Linked DNA regions of Homo sapiens: regions 1 and 2 are each linked to region 3. The links are contacts of gene promoters, found by promoter capture Hi-C in human tissues and cell types (Jung and others, 2019). All regions are on one chromosome and are shown on one strand. Each heading gives the region's core, a stretch centred on a gene start or on the middle of the fragment in contact. The rest is flanking DNA. Distances are from core to core; before and after follow the strand shown. Region 1 has its middle 9.5 kb from the start of ARSI. Region 2 has its middle 20 kb from the start of CSF1R. Region 3 holds the start of SLC6A7 (solute carrier family 6 member 7).

Region 1 (4,830 bases), core at 208-2,707, 120 kb after region 3:
CTTTCCCTTCCTTTGTTGAAGTCCTTTAATCTTTAAAGCCCAGCTCAAATCCCACCGCTTCCAAGAGACTTTTCTAGACCTCCTCCTCCCTTCCTTCCCTATTCAGTCAATCTCTTGCTCTCCACAGTCCCCTGGGGCATGTTTATGGTTCTATTAGATCACAGTCTGCCTGTTTCAGAGTTATTTATGTGTCTCTTTCTGAGCCCCTGGTGAGTGATCAGCCCATAGTAGGTGCTAAACAAACATTTGTTTGAATTTATTTGAATTTCCTTTCAGGGTTTTAAATATTTTCTATTATTAATAGTACAGGCCGTTACTAATAATCCCTTACACTTGTAAAATTATTTACAGTTTATATATAGCTTCATGCTTGAGGGTACTGCTTTAAACCCCAGCTCCACCCTTCCTAGCTGTGTGACCAGTATACAAGCCTTGTAGCCTCTCTCAACCTGCTTCTCATCAGTAACGTGGATTGTGGTAACGATAAAACTAAATGTGTAAAGGGTTTACTTAGCACAGGGCCGGATGTCCAGTGATCCTTCAATAAATGTTAATTATTATCATAACTCATGATCTTGTTTGGACCTCACGAAAGCTCTGGGATGTAAAAGGGGCAGGAATTTTGTTAGTGTCATCATTGTTATCAATGACATATGAAGAGACTGAAGCTTAGAGAAGGTAAGAGTTGCCTAGGTGTTCAGACTTTAGTCAAATACTGTGATGGGCACCTATTGTCTGCCTTGCAGCTGCTCCCCTTTCTTGGAAACAGAACCTAGATTTTCTTTGATGGGTTTCCACTGATGGGTTGACTCCAGGAGCAGGCTTGGACAATTAGAGCATCAAATGTCCCTGGTCAAAGTGATTAGTTCAGGAATGCACAAGTGACCTAAGACTGTCTAGTGAGACTCAATTCTGAGAATTTTGTTTGGATTTTTGAGAACAAGATTGTTCATTGTCTCTTTGCTGCTAGACTTGGAGCAAGAAGATTAGAAGCCTGGACCTGCCTGGAGCTAACTGTAGTGAAGAGAAAAAAAGCAAAGTGAGAGGTAAAGACAGATTCCCAATAACACCATTTGAGTACATGGGTCCTTTCCAGTCCTACCTGAAGCTAGAACTACTCCCCTGGACTTCAGTTATGGGAACAATACGTTCCTTCTTTCTTACACCAATTTGTGTTGACATCTGTCACTTGCTACTGGATGAGTACCAACTACTGCGAGAATGCTGTCTTATCCACACAGAAATCAAGGATCTCTTTATCCAATTCATTTGCTCAACAAGCACTTACTGAGCAACTATTATGTGCCTTTCACTCACTGGGACTAAGACTACAGATATGGACAAGACAAACCACCTGGCCCTCTTGGAGTTGATGGTCCATTGTCATTCCCTTAGACTTGTGAAGACACTGAGGCTCAGAGAGGAGAACACCCCAAAATATGTGTCCTTCACATGATTAAGAGTGCCTCGGTCCTGAATGAAGCTGGGCTGGAGCTGAGGCAGGCAGTGGTAATTGGCTGGTCACTGGCAGGAAGAGCTGGTTTAGGGATTAGTGAGTTTCTGCTCAGCAGGAAGCTTCCAGACCAACGCTGGCAGTTGGACCTGGAGGCTGAGCCCTCGTCCCCTGGATCCAGGACTTCAGGCAGGGGATAGTTTCCTGCGAGCAGCATGGCTCCAAGGTCTCATTTGAGGGTGTCAATTCCCATGCTCCTGGCTTTATGGGTGGACTCGCTTTGGTCTGGAATTCTGATTATGAAGAGGCCTTTCAGCATCAAGATTACCCTGGAGGGAGGCTTCATCTCACAGGGATTTTCAATATGCTTATCAAAGGGAAAAGCCCCATCTTATAGCCTAACCTGAGCCTAGTTTTTTCCTTTATCCTATGACCCACCCTTGGGAGAACCTAGTCTCTTGGGCAAACCCAGTCTCTCAGGGCCAGGTCTCTCACGGAGGTTGTGATACCTAGAAATTGGATTTGCACTCAGCTGGCTTAGTTTTTCTCTGCCTCCTCAGTTCCTAGCACAGACCCTGGCTTATAGTAGATGAGTAAGTCTGTATCTCATGAATGTTCGTAGGATTTTTTTTTTTTTTTTGAGACAGAATCTTGCTCTGTCACCCAGATTGGAGTGCAATTACGCGATCTCAGCTCACCGCAACCTCCGCCTCCCTGGTTCAAGCGATTCTCCTGCCTCAGCCTCCCAAGTAGCTGGGATTACAGGCGCCTGCCAGCATGCCCAGCTAATTTTTTTTTTTTTTTTTTTTTTGTATTTTTAGTAGAGACAGGGTTTCACCCTGTTGGTCAGGATGGTCTCGAACTCCTGACAATCAGGTAATCCACCAGCCTCAGCCTCCCAACGTGCTGGAATTACAGGTGTGAGCCACCACGCCCAGCCTGCTCATACGATTATTTTAAGATAGGGAGAGGCACCCATTCTGAGACAGATTGACCATGAAATTAGTACAGCTTAAGCTTCCAGACCCCTCCCTAGCACAGGGTCCTCTCTAATCCCTGAGGGGGGCTCCGACACTGTGTTCACATGATCACGTATCTGAAAGTTGAGCCCGTCATCTTAACTGCAATCAGTTGTGATCAATGACTCTTGCCTCTGACCTCTTCACTGTTATTTTCCTCAGGACAGATGGCTTTAGAAGGACTGTGGCATTTTGGGGGTCTGGCTCACGGGAAGTTGAACTGGGGATACATGCACAGTTAAGTCGGCTGTCTCGGTATAGAAATGTCTTCCAGGGCTCTTGCTGTCTGCTGAGCTGACTCACTTGACATATTATGACACAAAGGTGCAGGCCCCAAGCTTGGATGGCAGCGTGAAGGTGTCTTCCAGTCCCCGGCAATAGAAGTATATGTGTCGGAGAAGAGGGACAATTTTGAAATCTAAGGAGCCAAGAGCTAAGCTGTGGAAAATTCTTCCAATTATCAGACCTGTAAAATTCTAAGCAAAAGACTCAGTGCTCAAAGATGCTTAAGCAAAATGGAAATTATTTCCTGTCAGGAATATTCTACAATACAGTACATATCATTATAAATACACACACCAAAACCTTTTTCTTTCTTTCTTTCTTTTTTTTTTTTTTTCCTAGCCCTGGCTAGGACTTTTCTTTTTCTTTTTTCTTTTTTTTTGAGATAAAGTCTCACTGTGTCTCCCAGGCTGGAGTGCAATGGCATGATCTCTGCTCACTGCAACCTCCGCTTCCCGGGTTCAAGCAATTCTCCTGCCTCAGCCTCCTGAGTAGCTGGGACTAGAGGTGCACAGCACCATGCCTGGCTAATTTTTGTATTTTTCATAGAGACGGGGTTTAACCATGTTGGCCAGGCTGGTCTCAAACTTCTGGCCTCAAGTGATCTGCCTGCCTCTCAGCCTCCCAAAGTGCTGGGATCACAGGCATGAGCCACCATGCCTGGACTTCTGTTTTCTTTTTCTTTTTTTGATGGATATCATGTTATGGGTTGAATTATGTCCCCACCCCTCAAAAAAAAAAAAAAATAAAAAAACAAGAAATGTTTAAACCCCACCTACCTCAGAATGTGTCAGAATGTAGACCTGATCTGGAAATAGGATTTTTACAGAGATAATCAAGTTAAAATGAGGTCATTAGGGTAGGCCCTTAATCCAATATGACTGGTATTCTTATAAAAAGGGGAAATTTGGACACAGGCAGACGTGCAAAAGAAGAACACCAAGCTTTGATGAAGGCGAGATTAGCGTGACACATCTCCAAGCCAGGGAGCACCAGAGATTGCCAACAAACCACCAGAGGCTGGGGGAGAGGCCCGGAACAGATTCCCTCATGGCCTTAGAAGGAATCAACCCTGCCAACACCTTGATCTCCAACTTTTAGCCTCCAGGACTGAGAAATTAGATCGCTTGCTAAGTTTATGGTATTTTGTTATGGCAGCCCTAGCAAGCCAATAGCACGTGAAGGAGAATTTACCAGAAAACCCATGTCTGTGGCCCACCAACCAGCAGCAGCATTACACACAGTGACTACATCTCATGTTTTATGCATTCCAACCATCAAAAATTAAAGAGAAAAATTCAATTAACCATGCAAGGGGGAAGAGTGGATTATCTTTCCATTCTATGTTTAGAAAATGATTACAAAACCATTTTCCTGTCAAGACTGTGGTGACACCTGTGGCCGGTGCTCATCCTCCCAACACTACACTGCTCCTGAGTCTGGGCCTTTTTTCTGTTGTCTGCATCTAGGACTTCCCTGGTGCCTGAGTGTGCTCTCTGGGTCCTATTTAGAGAAACAACTGGCTGGGCTCTGCTCCCATGGGCCCAGATGTCAGGTTTGAGGTTCTAGAGAATTAAGGGGTCAGAGTGGCCTGGACTCTGTCTCCAAAACTGCCCTTCTTCATCATTTTTCATTCCTTTCCTCCAGCCAGAAAATGAAATTGGAGTTATTTCCTCTCAGAACCTGAAAAAATGTTGCCTTCATGTTTGGCCACGGACAGACGAGCTGTCTCAATTATCCTGGGAAAGGCCATCTAAACATCGGCGATTCCACTGGGTTTTTCTTTCCACCTTTTCCTCCTCCTCCTCCTCCTCATCCTCCTCCTCCTCCTCCTCCCCCCAGCCAGGCCTCCAGGCTCCCTTCCCTGCTCCACAGTGTCCTCAGGGGAACCCCAGCCCTCTTCTCCTCCTCCAACCCACCTCCTGCCTGCCTTTGCCACCAGCCTCTCTGGCTTGCTATCATATTCAGGTGACCTGCCGGGGGTCAAGTTTTCCTTAGGGTTCTGTCTGAAGCTCTTGGCTCAGGACCTGGGGAAGAACAGAGGGAATCAAAAAGTGATTCAGTTGCAGGGTCCAG
Region 2 (4,911 bases), core at 424-2,923, 85 kb before region 3:
ACTAAGAGTACCTGACAACCTGGCAGGGTGCCAGGGCTTGATCCTATAGGCCATGGGTCCTTAATGGCCTGGAGGCCTCTAGAGGGGTGCACCTCCAAGTGCAGTTCAGGGACCCCAGCCTCAGAATCACAGGGGTAACTGTTAAAATGAAGACTCCAGGACCATCCCAGGCCTGCTGACTTAGGGGTGGGAGGGGGGTACCTGCACAGGTAACAAGCTCTCTAGCGGATTCTCATGCTCCCTCTGGCTGAGGCCACTGCCTTTGAGAGTCCCTGGATGGCCTTGAGGAAACCTGGGCACCCCTAACACGGATGCAAAGTTTGTGTGTGATCTTGCCCAGCTTTCATGCAATTCTCACCAAGTCCCTGACCCAGGCTGGCAGAGACCCCTCTCTGGTGGAACATGTTTAGGTGGAGGAGGGGTATAACCAGCAAGAGGGGTGGAGGCTACAGTAGTCCTGAGGGATGGCCTAGGCCACCTTGGCAGGACCTGTCTCTGTCCCCACGATCAAAGGATGCTGCTTGTCCTGTCATTTCTATCCATCCAGCTAATTCCTATAGCTCCTTCAGACTCGCTGCCTCCTGGAAGCCTCCCTGTTCCTGCCAGATGGGCAGGTATCCTTATTATGCATCCCAGGCCTTTTGGGCTCAACCGCATCCCAGCATTTTCCTTGCATGGCAGGCTTCAAAGGTTTATCAGGTGCTCACTATGTGAAAGGCAGCACGCCCAGTGCTCTTTGGAATTTTCTCATTGAATCCTCAACTCTAGAGGTAGGTGTGGTTATTATCCTTGTTTTACTGAAGAGCAAACCAAGGCTCAGAGAAGTTAAGTCACTTTCCCAAGATCACACAGCTGGTGAGGGCATTTCTGCCTCCTATGGTACAGGTATACCTGACCATTCTGATCCACTGATTTTAGATGTATGAAGAGTGAATGAATTAATGAATGAATGCTGTATGCCAAAGCCCCGTGAGTAGGAAGGTACTCTGTCCTCCTGGAAAAAATGGCATTTAGAGGCCTAATCCTTACTCTTTTGTTCATTTGTTCTTTTTTTTTTTGAGATGGAGTTTCATTCTGTCACCCAGGCTGGAGTGCAGTGGCGTGATCTCAGCTCACTGCAACCTCCACCTCCTGGGTTCAAGTGATTCTCTTGCCTCAGCCTCCTGAGTAGCTGGGACTATAGGCACCCACCACCACGCCCAGCTAATTTTTTAATATTTTTGACAGAGGCTGGGTGCAGTGGCTCACACCTATAATCCCAGCACTTTGGGAGGCCCAGGCAGGTGGATCACGAGATCAGGAGATGGAGACCAGCCTGGCTAACACAGTGAAACCCTGTCTCTCCTAAAAATACAAAACATCAGCCAGGCGTGGTGGCACGTGGCTGTAGTCCCAGCTGCTCAGGAGGCTGAGGCAGGAGAATCACTTGAACCCAGGAGGCGGAGGTTGCAGTGAGCCAACATTGTGCCACTGCACTCCAGCCTGGGTGACAGAGAGAGACTCTGTCTCAAAAAAAAAAAAAAAAATATATATATATATATATATATTTTTTTTTTTTTAATAGAGGCGGGGTTACCATGTTGGCGAGGCTGATCTCGAACTCCTGACCTCAAGTGATCTGCCCGTTTTGGCTTCCCAAAATGCTGGGGTTACAGGCGTGAGCCACTACACCTGGCCTCTTTTTTTTCTTTTTCCCTTTTTTTATAGGCAAGTCTCATTCTGTTGCCAGGCTAGAGTACAGTGTCAGAGTTACAGCTCACTGAAGCCTCAAACTCCTGGGCTCAAGCAATCCTCCTGCCTCAGCCTCCTGAGTAGTTAGGACTACAGGCACACACCGCCCACTTGACTAATTTTCTATTTCTTTTTGTTGAGACAGGGTCTCACTGTGTTGCTCCAGCTGGTCTCAAACTCCTCCTGGCATCAAGCGATCCTCCTGCCTTGGCTTCCCAAAGGGCTGAGATTACATGTGTGAGCCACCACACTGGACTCCCTAATATTTTCTGAGTGCTGTTTATGTGCCAGGCACCACAGCAGGCTCTTTCCATATTTATCTAATTTAGTGCTTTTAACACATGAGGCTGATTCTATTAATTACGCCATTTTGCCGATGAGGAAACCAAGGCTCAGAGAGGTTAGTTCACTTGCCCAAAGTCCCAGAGCCAGGGAATGACAGAGCTGAGACTGGAAGCAGGCAGCCTGGCTGCAGAGCCTACGCTAATGACCAGCACACTGCACAGGGCGATCCTGACCTCCCCCAGCAGTGGGTGTGCTGACCGCTAGTGGACACAGAGTGGGGAAGTGCCATGGGACTCAGTGGGGTAAGCCCTGACTGAGGAAGCCTTGGTGATGCTGCCGGGAAGGTGACAAACAAGAATCCCAGATTGACATTACCCCTTCCTGTGGCAGAGGAACTTTGAGAGGAGTTTGCATGACAGCCCAAGGATTAGGAAACTCTGAAGAAATGTGTGGGCCATGTCACACTTCACATACTGAGAGCCTAGTTTTCATCTCCCTGCCTGACTCCTGGACCCTGGAACCTCCAGACCCCAGGTCAAGGACAGCTTAGCCCCCACCCTCCTGCCCAGTTAACCCCAACTGCAGCCCATGCCCTGGGACCCAGGAGGTTCCCCACCAGAGAGTGGAGTGGGCCCAAGCTAGGAGCCAGGGACCCAGACAGAATAATGGCAATTTGGCAACTGGTTCCTCTTTGACCCTGGACCACAAAGGTTCGACCACACCTATCTCTAGGCCTGAGGATTGAGCTCTAGTGTCTGAATTGGAGTACTATGGGGTATTTGCTCCCATTACTATTGCAGCTCCATAGAGCAGATCAAGGCCATACCCTGTAGCAGGGCTTACAGGGGCCTTTGCAATCTGATCTCTGCCTCTTCTCTCTCCATCCACCCTCCCTGCTGTACTGAACACTTGCAGCTCCTGCATACACCCCCACACTCCTTCTTCCTGTTCCACATACTTCTGCTTCCACCTGGCCCATAAGCCTCCCTTTGCCTGACTGAGTCCCTGTCTTATAGTCTCTCGTGGCTCCCTGAGTTTCCTGGCACTTCTCGCTGTCAACAGAAGCACAGTTATGAGAGTGGTTATTGGTGTGATGTCATTCTGACCCCTTTGTTCTGCAGCAGGAGTTTCCTGGTAGGGCCAGTCTCCCTTCCGGTCTTCTTTATACCCTCTACACCTGGCCCTGCCTGGCAGATGAGTGCTCAGTCAATGCCAGATGCATGAAGAAATGTATAAACAATCCAATGAATGAATGAATAAATGAAGAGCAAGGAGAAGCTCTCCACCCTCCAAAAGCAATTTATTCAGCAAATGCTTCATGTGTCAGGCCTTGTTCTGGGCCCAGGAAGGCCAAGGCTCAGAGCACTTTCCTGCATGCAGGGACCTCACCGCCTGGTGGGAGGTAAGGCAAGTAGCTAAGTGGTGTTATACAGTGCAGCTGATAATATCTGACATCTATGGACATTAACATGATTTGTCATCCAATTTGGAACCTTTGAGACTGGAAGGGGTGCTATTAATAATTGCATTAACACAGGGGCATGAAGAAGGACTGTTCTGGTTGATCCATTGGGCACACTCTTCATGCCAGTCTCTGGACTGAGCTATTTGCACAGATCATCTCATTGATTCTCCCAGCCACCTTAGGGGAAAGCTGTAATTACTCCATGTTACAGATGAAGAAAGACAGGCTCAAAGATGGTAAGTAACCTGCCTGGAGTTAAACAGCTAAGTGGCAGAGCTGGGTTTTAAACCCTGGAACCCAGAGCCAGAGCCCACATGTTCAACCACTGTCTTTCATCAATGGCAGGGGCTCTCAGGAGGATCGAGGGTAAAGGGGAACAGCCTAGGCTTTGGAGCCAGATAGACCAGGAATTCATTCCCCACTCCTAACCACAGCCAGGTCCCCGGCCTTTCAAGGCCTTGTTTCTTCATTATGTAAAATGGGGAAGGGGCTATTGACTCAGATCCAGTGAGACAATAATGCAGGTGAAGGGCATGCAACAGATATTTCTCAATCACTGTCCCTGGCCCTGGGGACATGGTGGTGAACAGGTCAGCTGTGGTCCCTCCCTTCTGCAACTCACAGCCTATTGTCAGAGCCAGGAGAGGAACCAGGCCACTGGGGGAGTTGCAAGATGTCCTGGGATCACCGGAGAGAAGAGTCAAGGAAGGCCCTATCTGAGTTGAGAGGAAGTGAGAAGGGTGAGGAGTTGGGGGAGAGATACAGGGAGGAGGAAGGAATGTTCCAAGAAGGAGAAACAGCACAGTAAAGGCCTGGAGGCGTAAGAGTGCACAGGGTATGGGAGGCTAAGAATGCTGAACAGATGTGAGGGCCCATAAGAGGCACAGACAAAGGAATGCGAAGAGAAATCATTTTCAGCTGAAGAATGAGGAAAGCTTCTTGGAGAAAGTAGCTTTTGCTGGGCTGGAAGCTTGAGCAAGACTTTGACCTTCAGCTATAAAAGACTGGGCATTCTAGGTGGTGACGGTAGCACCAAAAAAAGGGGCAGAGGTCAGGAAGCTAGTGGCCCACACAAGGTGGATGGACCTTGGAGGGCAGATGTGGGAGAGGCAGTAGGAGAGGTTGGAATCAGATCAGGGAGGGCCTTAAAGATTCCATGAAGGAGTCTCGACTTTGCTGGGCCACGGGGAGCCACTGAAGATGTTTGAGCAAGGGAACACCAAGACCATCACTATGCTTCAGGAAGATCAAGAATGAAAAAGAAAAATTTTCAGATGTGGAAGCTTCCCTCTTGTCTCTTCAGAGGGGAAAAAAGGGACTTAGAATTCTGTGATTTTCCAGAAACTGTGTTACTTCCCCATGTTTGTGACTTTTCTAGTTCCTGCAGTGAAGACCCACAAAATCTAAAACCAGAGACTGTGGATCTGCAA
Region 3 (4,738 bases), core at 1,148-3,647:
GGAGTTTTGGCTGGGCACAGTGGCTCATGCCTGTAATCCCAGCACTTTGGGAGGCAGAGGCAGAAAGATCCCTTGATCTCAAGAGTTCAAGATCAGCCTGGGTAATATAGCAAGACCCTGTCTCTACAAAAAAATACAAAAATTAGCCAGTCATGGTGGCACACACCTGTAGTCCCAGTTGCTTGGGAGGCTGAGGTGGGAGGGTAGCTTGAGTTCAGGAAGCGAAGGTTGTGGTGAGCCGAGATGGAGCCACTGCACATCAACCTGGGTAATAGAGCAAGATCTCTCTCAAAAAAATAAAGAAAAGAAAATCTTTGAGTTTTGTTTGTTTTATGAAAGGGCAGACTTTCCCCACCAGGGCTGTGGGGATGGAGGTGATGGTGGCAGAGAGGTATGAGCTAGAGGGCAGAGCCTGGGTGAGGTCAGACTCCTAGGTTATAGACATGATCCTGTCTTTACTGAATCACTGAGTGATTTTGCAAATCCTGCCCCTCTGGGTCTCAGTTTCCCTATCTGAAAGGCATGGGCCTAGATCCATTTGCACCTCACAGTCCCAGTGACTGCCACAGTGGCTCAGTGGTCACCCCCTGATGTGTCTGCTCAAGGGAAGCTAAAGCCCTGGTCCACTCCCTTCTTCTCCCCCAGGGCTGGGTCCGTGAAGTGGGAGGAGCAGGTGCTGCTAGGAAGGGTCATAAAGAGGCCAGTCTTCTTGGCTCCTGAGCCAACTGCCTCATCCCTGCTCGCTGTCCCTGTGGCCCTCTGTGCCTTCCAAAGGGTCTCATGAAACCCAAGTGCCAATGGGAGGGAGTGGTTGAGCAAGGTTGAGCCTCTTTTGTACAAGATGCATTGACAAGCCTTGGGTGAGGGATGGGGAAGTTTCCTGCCTGGGCCTCCTTGGATTCAGGAGCCCTTGGCTTCTGCCTTTCCCAGCCATGACCCACAGCTTTCCTGGCTTCATCCCCAACGCCCAGTGCATGACTTCACTCCTCTGGGACAGTTTCCACAGGTGTAAAATGAGATGCACAAACATGTCTTCCCAGACAGTTGGAAAGAATTAAAAATTAGATGTTGGATGCAAAAATCCTTCATAATGCACACAGTAGGGCTCCATAAATGCTCCTTCTCTTCACACTCACAGCCACTCTTGGCCCCATATGGGTCAGCAGGCAGGGGGCAGAGGAGACACCTTCCTCCTGGGTCTGGAGAGCCCCTGGTTTGCCCTTTGTGGCCAGGCTCAAAGGGGAGAGAAGTTTGACAGGACCTGGGCAGGGGAAGGGGTGGACTGGAGCCTGGCCAGGCCTTTACCCAAGTCCATGCTTTGACTTAAACCCCTCCAACCTTTTTTCAAGCTCCAGAGGTGGGAGAGAGCAGAACCTTATTCTCATCTCTCCCCAAAGGCCTCCCACCGTGTCAACTGATAGTGAGCCAAACAGATGTATGGTTAATGTCTAAACTGGGACACTTGCGAGGGTGAAAAGGACACAATTTGTAATGTATATACTGATCCGCTAGTGTCTATCAGTCAGTCCCAGCAAACCAACGTGTGCCATTGCTCCAGCTCATCATTTCCCATCCTAGCCACAGGCTCACTGGACCCTCAGAACATTCTGAGGCAACAATGCATGGGCGGCTCGTGGCCCATTTTACAGATATGAAATTAGAACTTTCCAGAAGCCATACTGCTGCTGGACAGGAAACCAGTTACTAATCATCTAAGTCACAGATCACAGTGACACTGTGGCACTTGCCTGTCCCTTCTGCTCACCCAAACCTCCCCATTTTGCTTTCATCTTAAGGAAAGGAGGAGAGTTGAAGACTCTACTAGCCTAAAGGTCCATGAAGCCTGACTCTGTCCCTGGTGTCACTCATTAGCCCCGTGACTTTGAGTAAGTAACTTAACTTCCCTGTCCCTCAGCTTCCTCATCTGTAGAATAGGAGTAACGACACCTGTCTCTCCAGGTTGAGAAAATAGGACACCTAGTTCAGGACCTGGCACATTTTAGGTGCTCAATAAATACTGATAGATTGAATAATTGGACTAATGGTGGCGTGGGCAACCCACAGTCAGTGAATAAATGTTAACTGAGCACCTACTATGTGTCAGGCTCTTTGTGCTAGATGTTTTCTATGCTCCATCTTCCTGAATTGCTCACACTCCTGTAAGAGAGGAGAGATTCTTATCCCCTAAGGTCGCACAGCAAAGACGACGCAGGGGGGTGGGCTGTTAGTGTTCCTTGCCCAACTGTGGAAAGGGAGTCCCAGAGAGGGCAGGTCGCTTGCCCAAGGTCACGCAGAAAGCCGAGGGTTTCCGTCGCGAACCCCCCTCCCCACTCGCTCAGGGCTCTCCAATCCGCAGCTCTGCGTGCGGGGGCGCGCGCATCCCCCCGCCGTCCGTCCGTCAGCTGTCTGTCTGGGTGTCTATGCGGGCGCAGCAGTGCACCCTTCCCCAGCCTCGGGCGCTGCGCAGGGACAGACAAGGCATTCGCAGCGCCCTGCCCGCGCTCCACGCCCGCAGCCGCCAGACGGCAGCGCCTGCGTCCGTGCCCGCCCCAGCCGGTGCGCGGGAGCCGCGGGGGCAAAGGCGCAGTGGCCAGCGGACCATCTCTCGTGCCCTCGCTCTCTGCGCTCCGGGGCAGCTGAGCCCCGGCCACCCGCTCTCCAAGATGAAGAAGCTCCAGGGAGCTCACCTCCGCAAGGTAGGGCACGAGGGCGGGGGCGCTGGGGGTGCACCTGGAGGAGGGTTGGAGAGACCCGCCCCCAACGAGGCCCCTGGGGAAGGTCTGAGGATGCACCCAGACCAGCTTCGGGCTCTGGGGAAGGCCCGACTCAGCTGGATAACAGGGAGGGTCAGGGTCACGGTCTGCGCCCCCACCTCTGCCCCTGCCATCTGGGGTTCGGGATGTAGTATGAGGGGAGTCCTGGTTCACTGGGCCAGGCCTATGAACAGGTGTCTGCAGTCCCCGGAGGCGCGGGGTAGGGGCGGCCGGGGCCAGGCACCCACCTCTTCCCCAATTCCACCCTGCTGCTCCCCGCCAGGAGCTGATTGCCGGGTGTGGGGGGTATTGGAATACCTGAGCGTTGAGCTGGACTCATCTGAGGGGTGGGGAGTGGGAGGCGGTCATCCATACTGAAGCCGGCTCCCTGAGCCTGCGGGAAGACTCTCCTCTTTCCTGCCTGCTCCCTCCCCGCCCCCTTAGCTTGCCTGCTGAGACCCCAGGCTGCCCCTCAGCAGGGCTGAAGGGAGGCAAAGACAGGGAGGGGGCTATCGGAGGCAGGAGGATATGATCAATGAAGATGGAAGCTGGTATGGGAGAGTGGCTGTGGGCCCAGACCTCAGGCTCTCCCTACCTTGCCTTGTGGGATTGGACCTCTCAGCCAAGCTGTCAGGATATGGGGAGGGGGAATACTGGGGGACGTTTTCTGGCTTGTACCAGTCCTAACTAAGGAGTCAGATCTCCTGAATACTATTTCTGCCGCTGCCACTTGCCTGGTGACTTTGGACAAGTTCATTCTCTAACCTGAACCTCCTCTGGCTAAGCCCTAGCCTGGAGGCACCAAAACAGGCCCCACTGGGTGTGTGAGGTGTGGGGAAGAATGCTAAAGGGCTGGTAGATGTGAGAAGACTGTTCTCAGGGGCTGGTGTTATCAACCTCCCTACATACACACACATTCACACTCACACTCACTCACACACACACTCATTCATTCAAGTTCTCTGCTCTGGGGCAGCTGGGCTTGGAACCACTGTGGTGTGTCTTTTTTCTTTTTCTTGTTTTTTTTTTTTGAGACGGAGTCTCGCTCTGTCACCCAGGTTGGAGTGCAGTGGTGTGATCTCGGCTCACTGCAAGCTCTGCCTCCCGGGTTCACGCCATTCTCCTGCCTCAGCCTCCCGAGTAGCTGGGACTATAGGCGCCCGCCACCACGCCTGGCTAATGTTTTGTATTTTTAGTAGAGACGGGGTTTCACCGTGTTAGCCAGGATGGTCTTGATCTTCTGACCTCGTGATCCGCCCGCCTCGGCCTCCCAAAGTGCTGGGATTACAGGTGTGAGTCACTGCGCCCAGCTGGTATGTCTTTTTTATTCACTGACATGAGTGACTTCTTGAGACCATTTGTGAGTCTCTTGGGTCCTGTTTCCATTCTTTTCCACTCTCCTTCTCTTCCCTCTCTGCCCTCCCTCCCCACAAGAGGCCCTGTCCCTCTTGCTGGGTGCTGGGCTGGGGGGTTAGCAAGCTTTATCTCATTTAATCCTTTAACACTTCCAGGGGCTAGGTCTTAGTAGCCCCACTTTATAAATAAGGCAACTGAGGCACAGAGGGGTGAGACTCACTGCTTACCTGCTGGCAGGCTAGGCAACCTAGAGCCAACAGGGCAGAGGGTTGGTTCTAGGTTGCTACCTCCTCTCAGGGTCCTTTCCCTTTTCTCAAGCAGAATTGGGCGGGAATGAGAAAATGCCAGATTTCCGCAAAGGAGCAGCATTGCTCAGAGATGAACACTGGACTTAGAGTCAGGGGATCTAGGTCCAAGTCTTGCTGTGCCTTTAACTTGCTGTTTGACCTTGGGCTCATCCCTTCTTCCTGAAACTTGGTTTCCTAATCTGCACAATGATGAAGCTGGACCCCAGATTCCTATTGTCTCTCTCTGTCCTGAAGAGTCTTGGCTTGGGCAGTCTTGAGTCTCCCAGCCCCTGCTGTGAGTCCCTAAAGGCGAGCATGCAGGTCTGACAAACTCAGCTGTGT

The links. Contacts are between HindIII fragments. The study calls those that stand out against the background at their distance.
Region 1: a contact is called between a fragment that was not itself captured here and the fragment with the promoter of SLC6A7 in region 3, in 2 of the 25 tissues and cell types used here (H1 embryonic stem cells and spleen).
Region 2: a fragment that was not itself captured here is called in contact with the fragment with the promoter of SLC6A7 in region 3 in 2 of the 25 tissues and cell types used here (H1 embryonic stem cells and bladder).

What each region holds. Positions count from the first base shown.
Region 1 is chr5:150,309,943-150,314,772 of GRCh38, forward strand. No RefSeq gene overlaps it. Among named protein-coding and RNA genes, the nearest start is that of ARSI, 9.5 kb to the left of the region's middle. RefSeq lists an enhancer at 1-237. The HindIII fragment of the contact is 3,593 bases long and covers 1-3,254 here.
Region 2 is chr5:150,103,839-150,108,749 of GRCh38, forward strand. It overlaps a transcript of CSF1R not described here. Among named protein-coding and RNA genes, the nearest start is that of CSF1R, 20 kb to the left of the region's middle. The HindIII fragment of the contact is 7,045 bases long and covers 1-4,911 here.
Region 3 is chr5:150,187,665-150,192,402 of GRCh38, forward strand. It overlaps SLC6A7 (solute carrier family 6 member 7), which reads left to right and starts at 2,398. Exons shown (of 14, transcript NM_014228.5): 1 at 2,398-2,696. The coding sequence starts at 2,664. The HindIII fragment of the contact is 16,922 bases long and covers 1-4,738 here.